Regions from separate parts of the Homo sapiens genome. Here region 2 is linked to region 1. The links are contacts of gene promoters, found by promoter capture Hi-C in human tissues and cell types (Jung and others, 2019). All regions are on one chromosome and are shown on one strand. Each heading gives the region's core, a stretch centred on a gene start or on the middle of the fragment in contact. The rest is flanking DNA. Distances are from core to core; before and after follow the strand shown. Region 1 holds the start of GPR3 (G protein-coupled receptor 3). Region 2 overlaps WDTC1 (WD and tetratricopeptide repeats 1).

Region 1 (5,467 bases), core at 1,000-3,499:
GGGTTTGGAAAGAAGCCCTGGAGAGCCTAACATTCTGGAATTCTGTAGTAATCAGGGTTGAAGGGTCATGAAGACTCAGCTAGACATCACTGGGGGAGCGGGATCGGAAGGGGATCTTGGAAGAGGAACAGCAGCAGCAGACAGCCCACAGCACTTTCTGCACATCCTGGTTGCGGAAGGCGTAGATGATAGGGTTGATCATGGAGTTGTAGGTGGCAGGGAGCAAGGTAAGATAGGTGTAGAGAGGTGGAGAGTGGGCATCACCCAGCAGGCAGTAGACAGTGAAGGGCAACCAGCAGGCGGCAAAGGCTCCAAGCACCACGGCCAGTGTGGCAATGCCCTTGCGGGTGGCCACATAGTGGGAGGCAGGCAGCAGGTGCCGCTGAAGGGCAATCTGCTGGGCATGGCGGCAGACGATGCGGCAGATTTGGGCGTAGAGCTGCAGCATGATGCCAAACACCATGAAGAAGGCAATGGCCAGAACTACCAGATGGTTCTTGGAGAGTGGATAAACCACGCCACATGTGGTCAGGCCATCCAGGCAGTTCCAGGCCAGCACAGGCAGCAGCCCCAGGCCCAGGGCACCTCCCCACACTAAGGCCAGCATCACATAGGTCCGTGTCACTGTTGTCTCTGAATAGTAGGTGAGGGCATTGTACAGAGAAAGGTAGCGGTCGACAGTGATGGCCAGTAGACTGCCGATGCTGGCGGTAAAGGCCATTGCCAGCACGCCAACCAGCACCAGGCTCATCTCCGCTGAGCCGATGCAGAAGACAGCAGCAAAGTGCAGGACCAGGCCCAGGCCTGCCAGCAGGTCTGCCACGGCCAGGCTGCCCACCAGCAGGAACATGGGGGCACGGAAGGCAGGAGTGCCCACGATGATGGCCACCACTAGCGCATTCTCGCAGGACACCAGGGTGCCTGAGATGCAGAGCACCACATCCCAGGCCTTAGGCGAGGGCAGTGGTGCGGCTGGACCTGTGGGCCCCTCTGCTGGGCCCACGCTGCTTACATTCACGTTGCCTGAGCCAGCTGAGAGCCAGGCCAGAGGGCTGCCTGCACCCCACATCATGGTACCTGCAGGAGAAAGGCCTTGTGAGAAGCTGACCAAGCTGGGTGATGGGAGTTGGGGTCTGGAGGGGGTGAGGTGCTTCTCAGGATACGTGGTGGGAGTCTCTCCTCAGGATACCTGATAGGGTCCCAATGCCTTATCCCCACATTCATGCCCTGGGGCTCTTCCCAGGATACCGCTGTCCCCTCCAATGCCCCCAGGCCTCTAAACAGGGGTCTCTTCCTGGGGATCCCTGTCCTAGGTCCTGCAGGTCTCTTTTTCCCACGTGTGTGACCAGAGGAGAGACAGAAGAAGGGGTACTATAAGTGGAAGAGGGCCATAGGATCCAGGGGATGCCCCCGAAGGCTCAAGATTGGGGTAGGGAAACATCTACCCCATCAGGGAGACTGAGCAGCTCCGCTCCCTCCCATCAGAGATGATGATGCTAGCTCGTGCCTGAGGCTCCCAGACCCCTCACGATTTTCAGTACTGCCAGCCTTAGACTCCGCCCCCAGGGAATGCGCGTGAAGCTCCCGCCAGCCATCACCCCGCACTCCCGCGGTAACACCTGGGAACTCAGCCCCCCACCCCCCACCCTCCCAGACTTCTGTTCCTGGCTGGACCCTTCTTTCCGCCTGAATCTCTAGGTCTCTGGGCAGACCCCCCTGCTGGAAGACTGGATCCCTGAGTCAGATGCCTCCTTCTGCCCGGACACCTGGATTTTGGGCCTGACTCTGCCTCCTGCCTGGATACCTGGATTCCTAAATTGGACACCTCCTGCTGTTCGGACCCCTGGGTCCCTGCCCCAGACGCCTCCTGCCGGCTTAACCTCAGATGACCATCAGTCCCTCCAGGGCCTCGGGTCCCTGCAGGAATGCTTACCCTTCGCCGGGTCATCCAACTCAACCCCAGCACTCGAGCACTTGGGCCCAAGCCTGCTAACCCAGAATCGCCTAAACCCAGAATTCCCACCTCGAACTCGAACCCCGGCCGGCCACTAGGAGCCTTCCGCCGGCCCAGTGCCCCAGCATCCTGCGTGCCCTTCAGGACCCCTGGTGCCCGCGGCGGGGCCCGCTACTCACCGCTCAGGACCAGGCGCGGCCGGGCCGCGGGGAGGCTCCGCTCGGGTCCTGGCGGCGCAGGGCGTGCGTGGACCCCGAGAAGCCCCCGCGGCCGCGGGAGAAGCGGCGTGAGTCACCCCGCCCCGCCCCCGGCCACCGGTTCGGTGACGTCAGCGGTCCGATCAGCCAATGGGCGCGGCGCGCTGGGGCGCAGCGCGCGTTGCGCGGCATAGTAATAAGGCCTCGCACCGCCCGCTCCCCCATTCATAAAAAGCGACCGTGGCTGCGGCCCCGCCCCCTCCCGAGTCCGCCCGCGCTGTCCTTGACGCGGCGCCCTCTGCGGGCCGGGGGTTTCAGAGGCGCCGGTGCGAGAGCCTTGAAGTCTCAGAGAGGCTGCAGGGAACGTGGTGGAAGAGTGGAAAGGGGGCCCGGCTAGGCTGTGGGGTGATGGGACCCTTGGGTGGCAGAGAGGCTGACGAGATCCAGGTGACGAAGGAAGAGCTTGTGATGGGGCTGGTTGGGCTTCCCTGGTGAGAATGACAGGGTTTCCAAGATGATGGGGCCCTGAGGTGACGATGACAGGGAGCACGAGGGAGCGGGGAGGTGGGTGGCAGTGACGACATTAGCATGGTGACAGAATCTTGGGGTGGGGGGTGATGGCCGTGGGACGCTAACGGTAGAGGGGAAGCCCTCAGGGCAACCATGGCAGTGTCAGGGTGACTATGCAGCAGGGGGGAGTTCAGGGACCCCGGGATGGCAGAGGCAGCGGCCTGGGAACATGGAGTGTCCAGGTGACTTCAGGTCACCATTACCCTGTCAGAATGGCTGGGGTACTGAAGCGACAATGCTAAGCCATGAGGACTGTGGGGCCCTGGAACGAAGATAGCAGGTGGCTGTGGTGAGTGGGCTCCAGGGTGAGGGGCACAGGGTAGAGGGTCTGGACTGACAGTGACCAGGCAGGTAAGTTGCTGCCAGGGCAAGTCCCGTGATGCCGGGGCTGGGATAAGAGCTGGGTGACGTCACTCATGTCAGCCCAATAGCGCCCTCACAGCACCGGAGGGGTGGGCCTGGCAAGATTTCAAAACCTGAATTATTTATTCCAGTATCTAGAAAGCCAGCGTGGAGGGGGTGAGGGGTGCACTTCCCTGAAGCAGGAGGAGATGGGGAGCCGGGAAGAACTTGGAAGCAGAAAGCCTGGCAGCTCAGTCCTCAGGGCAGGCCCCTCTCAGCCTCCTATTTTAGGCATCCTGATGGGTGGAGCAAGGAGAAAGAGCTCCCTCTTCCCCAACGCCATCTGCCCTTAGTCCAGGGGAACCACTCTGGGCAGACTTCTCCAGATGTGACAGATGTGGCCAGTCCTGCGGCAGGGGGACTGGCTGCTCCTTCTCCCTGTGTCTCTTGCCTTGATGCTCCCTGGAATCATGCAGGCCTGTGGGAGGGGAAGATGAGGTTAAGAGGCCTGAGGATCCCAGGCCCCACTGGACACCCCCATCACAGCACCATCACTGCAGCCCCCATGGTCAGCCTCCACCAGGCAGGTTTTGGGTTTGAGTGTGAGGCAGCAGAAGGTCAAGTGGCAGGGAACATGGGAGGAGGAGGGGGTCGGAGCTGGAGAAGAGGATTCATTTCAGGTTGGATGTGGTGAGTTTAGGGGGCTTAGGGGGTGGAAGTGTCCAATCTCAGTTTCTCCATTTCCTAGCTGGGTGACTTTGGAGAGTTTCTTCAGCTCTCTGTGCCTATTTCCTCATCTAAAACACAGGGATAATATTAGTACCGGCCTCATGGGGTTGTTGAGTGGGTTCTACTTGCCATTGGCCATCAATGTTACAGCTGGATAATGAGGGACACCTGGGAGGTGTAGGCATGCAGGTGGCAACTGATGTTTTAGGGGTAAATAATGTCACCCAGGGGCGGGAGCAGAGAGTGAGGAGTGGCTTCAGGGGCTCCTCCTCCTGGGCTCTTGCACCTGACCCCTCTGACAACAACCCTTCTCTTCATCCAGGTCTCTGCTCCCGAATTACTTCTGAAACAGGCTGCTCTGAACTCTCAGATCGCCACTGGCCTCCCCATCACTCTCCCTCCCCTTCTCTTGATTTATTCATTTTTGGAGGATGAAGCACTCTTGAAATTATAAATGAATTCATGTTTGTTTGTTTTACTACATGTCAGCCCCACTAGAATCTAAGCTCCAAGAGGATACTGACTATGTCCCATTTCTGCTAGAGAACAGTGCCTGATATGTAATGGGTATTGAAGAAATAATCATGGACTGGATGATTGACCTAAAAGGGAACAACCAGAGGAAAAAAGGAAAACAGAGAGAATAGTAATATGCCTGGTGCCCAGGAAGGTGGGGGTGTCAGAGAGAGGATCCAAGGGCATCAGGGCCCCAAGACTCAGGGTCAGGGATCCATTTACTCCCCCATCAGAGCTGGGTCCCTACAGAGTTCTGGTCTCTGCGATGGGTGAAGGCTGCTGGGAGGTTGGCATCAAAGGGGGGTATCAGGGACTATCTTCTACTACTCTGAATGGCAATTATATATTTTTTAAGTTTTCGTAGCTTATTGATCCTCTGGTGAAAAATCTTCACCATTGCTGCAGATAAAGCCATTCCTGTTTGCCAGCACCAGCACCACACTCTTGTGACTCCCTGGCTGTCGTCATTCTGTTCTTGAGTTCCTTTAGCTGTTTTCTTGAGGTCTTTTTCTTTTATGTCTTGCAAGTCTGTGTTTGGATTAATTTTTCTTTGCATAATCCAAGGAATCATAAATCATAACCAAGCCAGTTGTCTTAACACCACCAAAATGGGTTCTGTCTTTTTTTTTCGTTTGTTTGTTTTTTGAGACAGGATCTCAGTCTGTCACCCAGGCTGGAGTGTAGTGGTGCAATCAATGCTCACTGTAGCCTCAACCTCTTGGACTCAAGCAATCCTCCCATCTCAGCCTCCACAGTAACTGGGATTACAAGCACGTGTCACCACGCCTGGCTAAGGCGTGTAATTTTTGTAGAGACAGGGTTTCGCCACATTGCCCAGGCTGGTCTTGAACTCGTAGGTTCAAGTGATCTGCCCACCTTGGCCTCCCAAAGTGCTGGGATTACAGGCATGAGCCACTGTGCCCAGCCCAAAATGGGTTCTAAATACAAAGATGAAATCCAGAGTGGTCTTCTACTTTTTGACTAGTTTTCTGTCTTAGGTATTGTTGTCTTCCCAGGGTGAAGGACACGGAAGACCATCATTTCCACTGAAGTATTGGTCATGAACTTCCTGATCCTGATAGTTATCCTGTTGTTTGCAAGGGAAGTTGATCCTAAGGCAGCCAGAGAGGAAAAGAGAGTGCAGTGACATTTCTTTTCT
Region 2 (5,467 bases), core at 2,104-4,603, 140 kb after region 1:
CAGGCTGGGGTGCAGTGGTGCGATCTCAGCTCAATGCAGCCTCCACCTCCTGGGTTCAAGCAATTCTCATGCCTCTGCCTCCGGAGTAGCTGGGATTACAGGCATGTGCCACCGAGCCTGGCTAATTTTTGTATTTTTTGCAGAGAAAGGGTTTCACCATGTTGCCCAAGCTGGTCTCGAATGCCTGGCCTCAAGTAATCTGCCTGCCTTGCCCTCCCAAAGTGCTGAGATGTGCCTGGGCACAAGTAACCTTTAACATGTATTCTTCATTCTAAAGAGAGCACAGTTAACAATATACCCTGATTTGCATACTTGAAGCTCTAATAACATTAATGGCTCATTTGTCTGCAGAATATAAAAGCTCAACAAAAAATTTCTCGAGCTAGAGGACAAAGGTTTTTTAATTTTATTTTTGTTTTTTGAGACAGGATCTCGCTCAGTTGCCTAGGCTGGAGTGCAGTGGTGCAATCACTGCATCACTGCACTCTAGCCTAGACCTCCCCAGCTCAAGCAATCCTGCCACCTCACCCTCCTGAGTAGCTGGGACCACATGTGTGTGCCACCATGCCCAGCTAATTTTTAAAATTTTTTGTAGAGACATGACCTCACCATGCTGCCCAGGCTGGTCTCCAACTCCTGGGCTCAAGCAATCCTCTCGTCTCAGCCTCCCAAAGTGCTAGGATTACAGGCATGAGCCACCACACCTGGTAGGTTTTTTTTATTTTTGAGACAGAGTCTTGCTCTATCACCCAGGCTGGAGTGCAGTGGCGCGATCTTGGCTCACTACAACCTCTGCCTCCCGGGTTCAAGCAATTCTCCTGCCTCAGCCTCCCAAGTAGCTGGGATTACAGATGCCCCCACCATGCCCGGCTAAGTTTTGTATTTTTAGTAGAGATGAGGTTTCACCATGTTGGCCAGGCTGACACACCTGGCAGATTTTGATTTGTTTAATAGAGACAGGGTCTTACTCTATCACCACTATATAGTGGTGCGATCATAGCATACTATAACCTTGAACTCCTGGGCTCACACAGTCCTTCTTCCCACCTCAGACTCCCAAGTAGCTAGGACTACAGGCATGCACCACCATTCCCAGCTAATTATTGTTTTTTCCTAAATTCAGGGTCTTGCTATGTTGCCCAGGTTGGTCTTGACTGCCTGGCTAGCTTCAAACAATCCTCCTGCTTCAGCTCCCCAAACTGCTGGAATGACAGGCATGAGGCACTGTGCTCCGGCCCAAAGGTCTACTATAAGTTAGGATATTGTGGACCAGCTCTAGTAGATACTCAATGAATTAAGGAGAAAGAAAGCAGCTGATTTCTGGGAGCTGAGATTATGAAAAATATAAAAATACTTAAGGCACAGAAGAAGACACAAGACACAATGTTACAAAGAAAATATGAGTTGCTATGCAGATGTTACACCTCCCAAAAGGTATTCTATTCCTGGAGCTCTAAAATGCCTAGCATATCACCATGTAACCCCATCATTTCTATAAACTTTTAACTTAGAATACTGGAAAACTTTCTTCTATAAGCCTATCTCTATGATTTTAAAGGATACTAACAAGAAAATAGAAGTCTGGCTAGGTGTGGTCGCTCACACCTGTAATCCCAGCATTTTGGGAGGCCAAGGTGGGCAGATCACCTGTGGTCAGGAGTTTGAGACCAGCCTGGCCAATATGGTGAAACCCTGTCTCTACTAAAAAAAAAAAAAAAAAAAAAAAAAAAAAAAAAAAAATTAGCCAGGAGTAGTGGTGCACGCCAGTAATCCCAGCTACTCAGGAGGCTGAGGCAGGAGAATCGCTTGAACCTGGGAGGCAGAGGTTGCATTGAGCCAAGATCACACCACTGCACTCCAGCCTGGGTGACAGAGTGAGACTCTGTCTCAAAAAAGAAAAAAAAAAAAAACAAGTCAATTAACAGCTCGATTTGGAGGAATTAGTCTAATCATAATGCCAAGGTGATCAGTAATATAATAGCCTGAGGTTAACATGACTTAGAACAAAGTACATTTGTGAAGATCACTCATCTAGAACCAAGAATTGAATGGTAATATCCAAATATGAAGAACCACTCCTTTCATGTGTGCTATAGTCCTTGTTTGGCTCTGGATAACGCAGCAGAAAGAGAAAAACATATAATACTTAGGCACCTGGGCCTGAATTCCAGCTTCCCCCTCAGTGTACCAATTAGTACCTACATAGGGAAGTTACTTAAATTTTCTGAGTTTCAATTTCCTCATTTGTAAAATGGGGATGCTAACACCTACTTTAATGGGTTGTTGTGAATACATGATAAAATATATATGAAAATACATAACAGGGCTGGGTGTGGTGGCTCACGCCTGTAATCCCAGCACTTTGGGATGCTGAGGTGGGTGGATCACCTGAGGTCAGGAATTTGAGACCAGCCTGGTCAACATGGCAAAACCCCGTTTCTACTAAAAATACAAAGTTACTTGGGAGGCTGAGGCAGGAGAATCGCTTGAACCTGGGAGGCGGAGGTTGCAGTGAGCCGAGATTGCACCACTGCACTCCAGCCTAGAGGATACAGAGAGACTCTTATCTCCAAAAAAGAAAAAAAGAAAGTACATAACAGTATCGTATCTAGATTGTAGTAGGTGCTCAACAAATGTTAGCTAAATTTGAATTCTACTAAAACCTGGTAACCCCTGTTATATTTGCTCAGTAGCATGGATTATAACATTTCCCCCGCCCCAATTTCCCTACCAGAGATGAAGCTGACAAGGGGTATTTCATTGTAGGATGGCAGGGGCAGAGTATAGGATGTCTTTATCACCTGTTAGGTTTGAAACGCAAGATCAGAAGGAAAATCGTGACGTTGTTAAAAGTGAAGAAATGCCACACAAAAATCTGTGCAAGAATGTATTTATAGCAAGGCCAGGTGCACTGGCTCACACCTGTAATCCCAGCGCTTTGGGAGGCCGAGGGAGAATCACTTGAGGCCAAGAATTTAAGACCAGGCTGGGCAACACAGCAAAATCCCGTCTCTACAAAAAATAAAATTAGCCAGGTGTGGTGGCCATGCATCTACAGCCCTAGCTACTCAGGAGGCTGAGGCAGAAAGATTGCTTGAACCCAGGAGTTTGAAGTTACAGTGAGCTATGATCATGCCACTCCAGCCTTAGTGAGAGTGAGATTCAGTCTCAAAAAGAAAAAAAAAAGTTTAGAGCAGCATTATTCATAATAGCCAAAAGGTGGAAACATCCATCAACTGATAAATAGATAAACAAAATGTGGTATATCCATACAATGGAATGTTATTTGGCCATAAGAAGGAATGAAGTACTGATACATGCTACAACATAGGGGAACTCTAAAAATATTATGCCAAGTGAAAGAAGCCTACATATTGCATAATTCCATTTATATAAAATAGAACAAAATAGAATAGAAATAGGAAGTAGATTAATGGTTGCTTAGGGCTGAAGGGAATGGGGGGATAGAGAAGTGACAGCTAAAGGATATGGCTTTTTTTTTTTTTTGAGACAGTCTCACTCTGTTGCCCAGGCTGGAGTGCAGTGGTGCCATCTTGGCTCACTACAGCCTCTGCCTCTCAGGTTCAAGTGATTCTCATGCCTCAGCCTCCGGAGTAGCTGGGATTACAGGCATGCACCATTATGCTCGGCTAATTTTTCGTATTTTTAGTAGAGATGGGGTTTCACCATGTTGGCTAAGCTTGTCTTGAGCTACTGGCCTCAAGTGATCTGTCTGCCTCAGCCTCCCAAAGTGCTGGAATTACAGGTGTGAGCCACTGAGCTGGGCCGGGATATGGTTTCTTTTTAAAAAATTTAAGGCTGGGTGCAGTGGCTCACGTCTATAATCCCAGCACTTTGGGAGACCAATGTGGGAAGATTGCTTGAGCCCAGGAGTTTGGGACCAGCTGGGAAACATGGTGAAACCCTGTCTCTAAAAAAAGTTAAAAAATTAGCTGGGCGTGGTGGCACACCTACAGTCCCAGCTACTTGGGAGGCTGAGGTGGGAGGACTGCTTGAGCCCAGGAGGTTTCGGCTACAGTGAGCCAAGATCACACCACTGCACTCCAGCCTGGGAGACAGGGCAAGACTCTGAATAAAAAAAAATAATAATAAAAAGTTTTTAAGTGAAATTCACATAAGATGAAACTAATCATTTTAAAGTGTATCATTAACAGACAACCTATAGGATGGGAGAAAATACTTGCAAACTATGCATCTGACAAAGGTCTAATATCCAGCATCTATAAGGAACTTAAACAAATGTGTAAGAAAAAAACAATCCCATCAAGTGGGCAAAGGACATGAACAGACACTTTTCAAAAGAAGACATACATGTGGCCAACAAGCATATGAAAAAAAGCTCAGTATCACTGATCAATAGAGAAATCCAAGTCAAAACCACAATGAGATACCATCTCACACTAGTCAGGATAGCTATTATTAAAAAGTCAAAAAATAACAGATGCTGGTGAGGTTGCAGAGAAAAGGCAACACTTTTACACTGTTAGTGGGAGTGTAAATTAGTTCAACCATTGTGGAAAGCAGTGTGAAGATTCCTCAAAGAGCTAAAAACAGAACTACCATTTGCCCTAGCAATCCTATTACTGGGTATATACCCAAAGGAATATAAATAGTTTCACCATAAAGACACACACACTGTGCAGTATGTTAATTGTGGCACTATTCACAATAAGCAAGACATGGAATCAACCTAAATGCTCATCAACAGCAGATGGGATAAAGAAGATGTGGTACAGGCTGGGCACAGTGGCTCACGCCTGTAATCCCAGCACTTTGGGAGGCCGAGGCGGGCAGATCACCTGAGGTCAGCAGTTCAAGACCAGCCTGGCCAACGTGGAGAAACCCCGTCTCTACTAACACTATAAAATTAGGCAGGCATGGTGTCAGGTGCCTATAATCCCAGCTACTTGGGAGGCTGAGGCAGGAGAATCACTTGAACCCGGGAGGCAGAGGTTGTAGTGAGCTGAGACTACGCCATTGCACTCCAGGCTGGGCAACAAGAGTGAAACTCCATCTCACAAAGAAAAAAAAAAAAAAAAAGAAAGAAAATGTGGTACATGTACACCATGGAATGACCATGCAGCCATAAGAATGAGATCATATCCTTTGCAGGAACATGAATGGAGCCGGAGGCCATTATCCTCAGCAAACTAAAGCAGAAACAGAAAACCAAATATGGCATGTTCTAACTTGTAAGTGGAAGCTAAATGATGAGACTTCATGGACACAAAGAAGGGAACAACAGACACTGGAACCTACTTGAGGGTGGAGGGTGGGAAGAGGAAGAGGATCAGAAAAAATAACTATTGAGTACTAGGCTTAGTACCTGGGTAACAAAATAATCTGCACAACAAACCACCATGACATGAGTTTACCTGTATAAAAAACCTGCACAAGGCTGGGCACAGTGGCTCACATCTCTAATCCCAGCATTTTGGGAGGCTGA

The links. Contacts are between HindIII fragments. The study calls those that stand out against the background at their distance.
Region 2: a fragment that was not itself captured here is called in contact with the fragment with the promoter of GPR3 in region 1 in 1 of the 25 tissues and cell types used here (spleen).

The regions. Positions count from the first base shown.
Region 1 is chr1:27,389,404-27,394,870 of GRCh38, reverse strand. It overlaps GPR3 (G protein-coupled receptor 3), which reads right to left and starts at 2,249. Exons shown (of 2, transcript NM_005281.4): 1 at 2,134-2,249; 2 at 1-1,077. The coding sequence starts at 1,072. The coding sequence ends at 80. RefSeq lists enhancers at 1-658, 1,487-2,022, 2,560-3,096, 3,097-3,633 and a silencer at 2,046-2,545. The HindIII fragment of the contact is 10,052 bases long and covers 1-5,467 here.
Region 2 is chr1:27,247,307-27,252,773 of GRCh38, reverse strand. The region is part of intron 1 of WDTC1 (WD and tetratricopeptide repeats 1); the gene reads right to left. Among named protein-coding and RNA genes, the nearest start is that of WDTC1, 15 kb to the right of the region's middle. The HindIII fragment of the contact is 4,416 bases long and covers 1,146-5,467 here.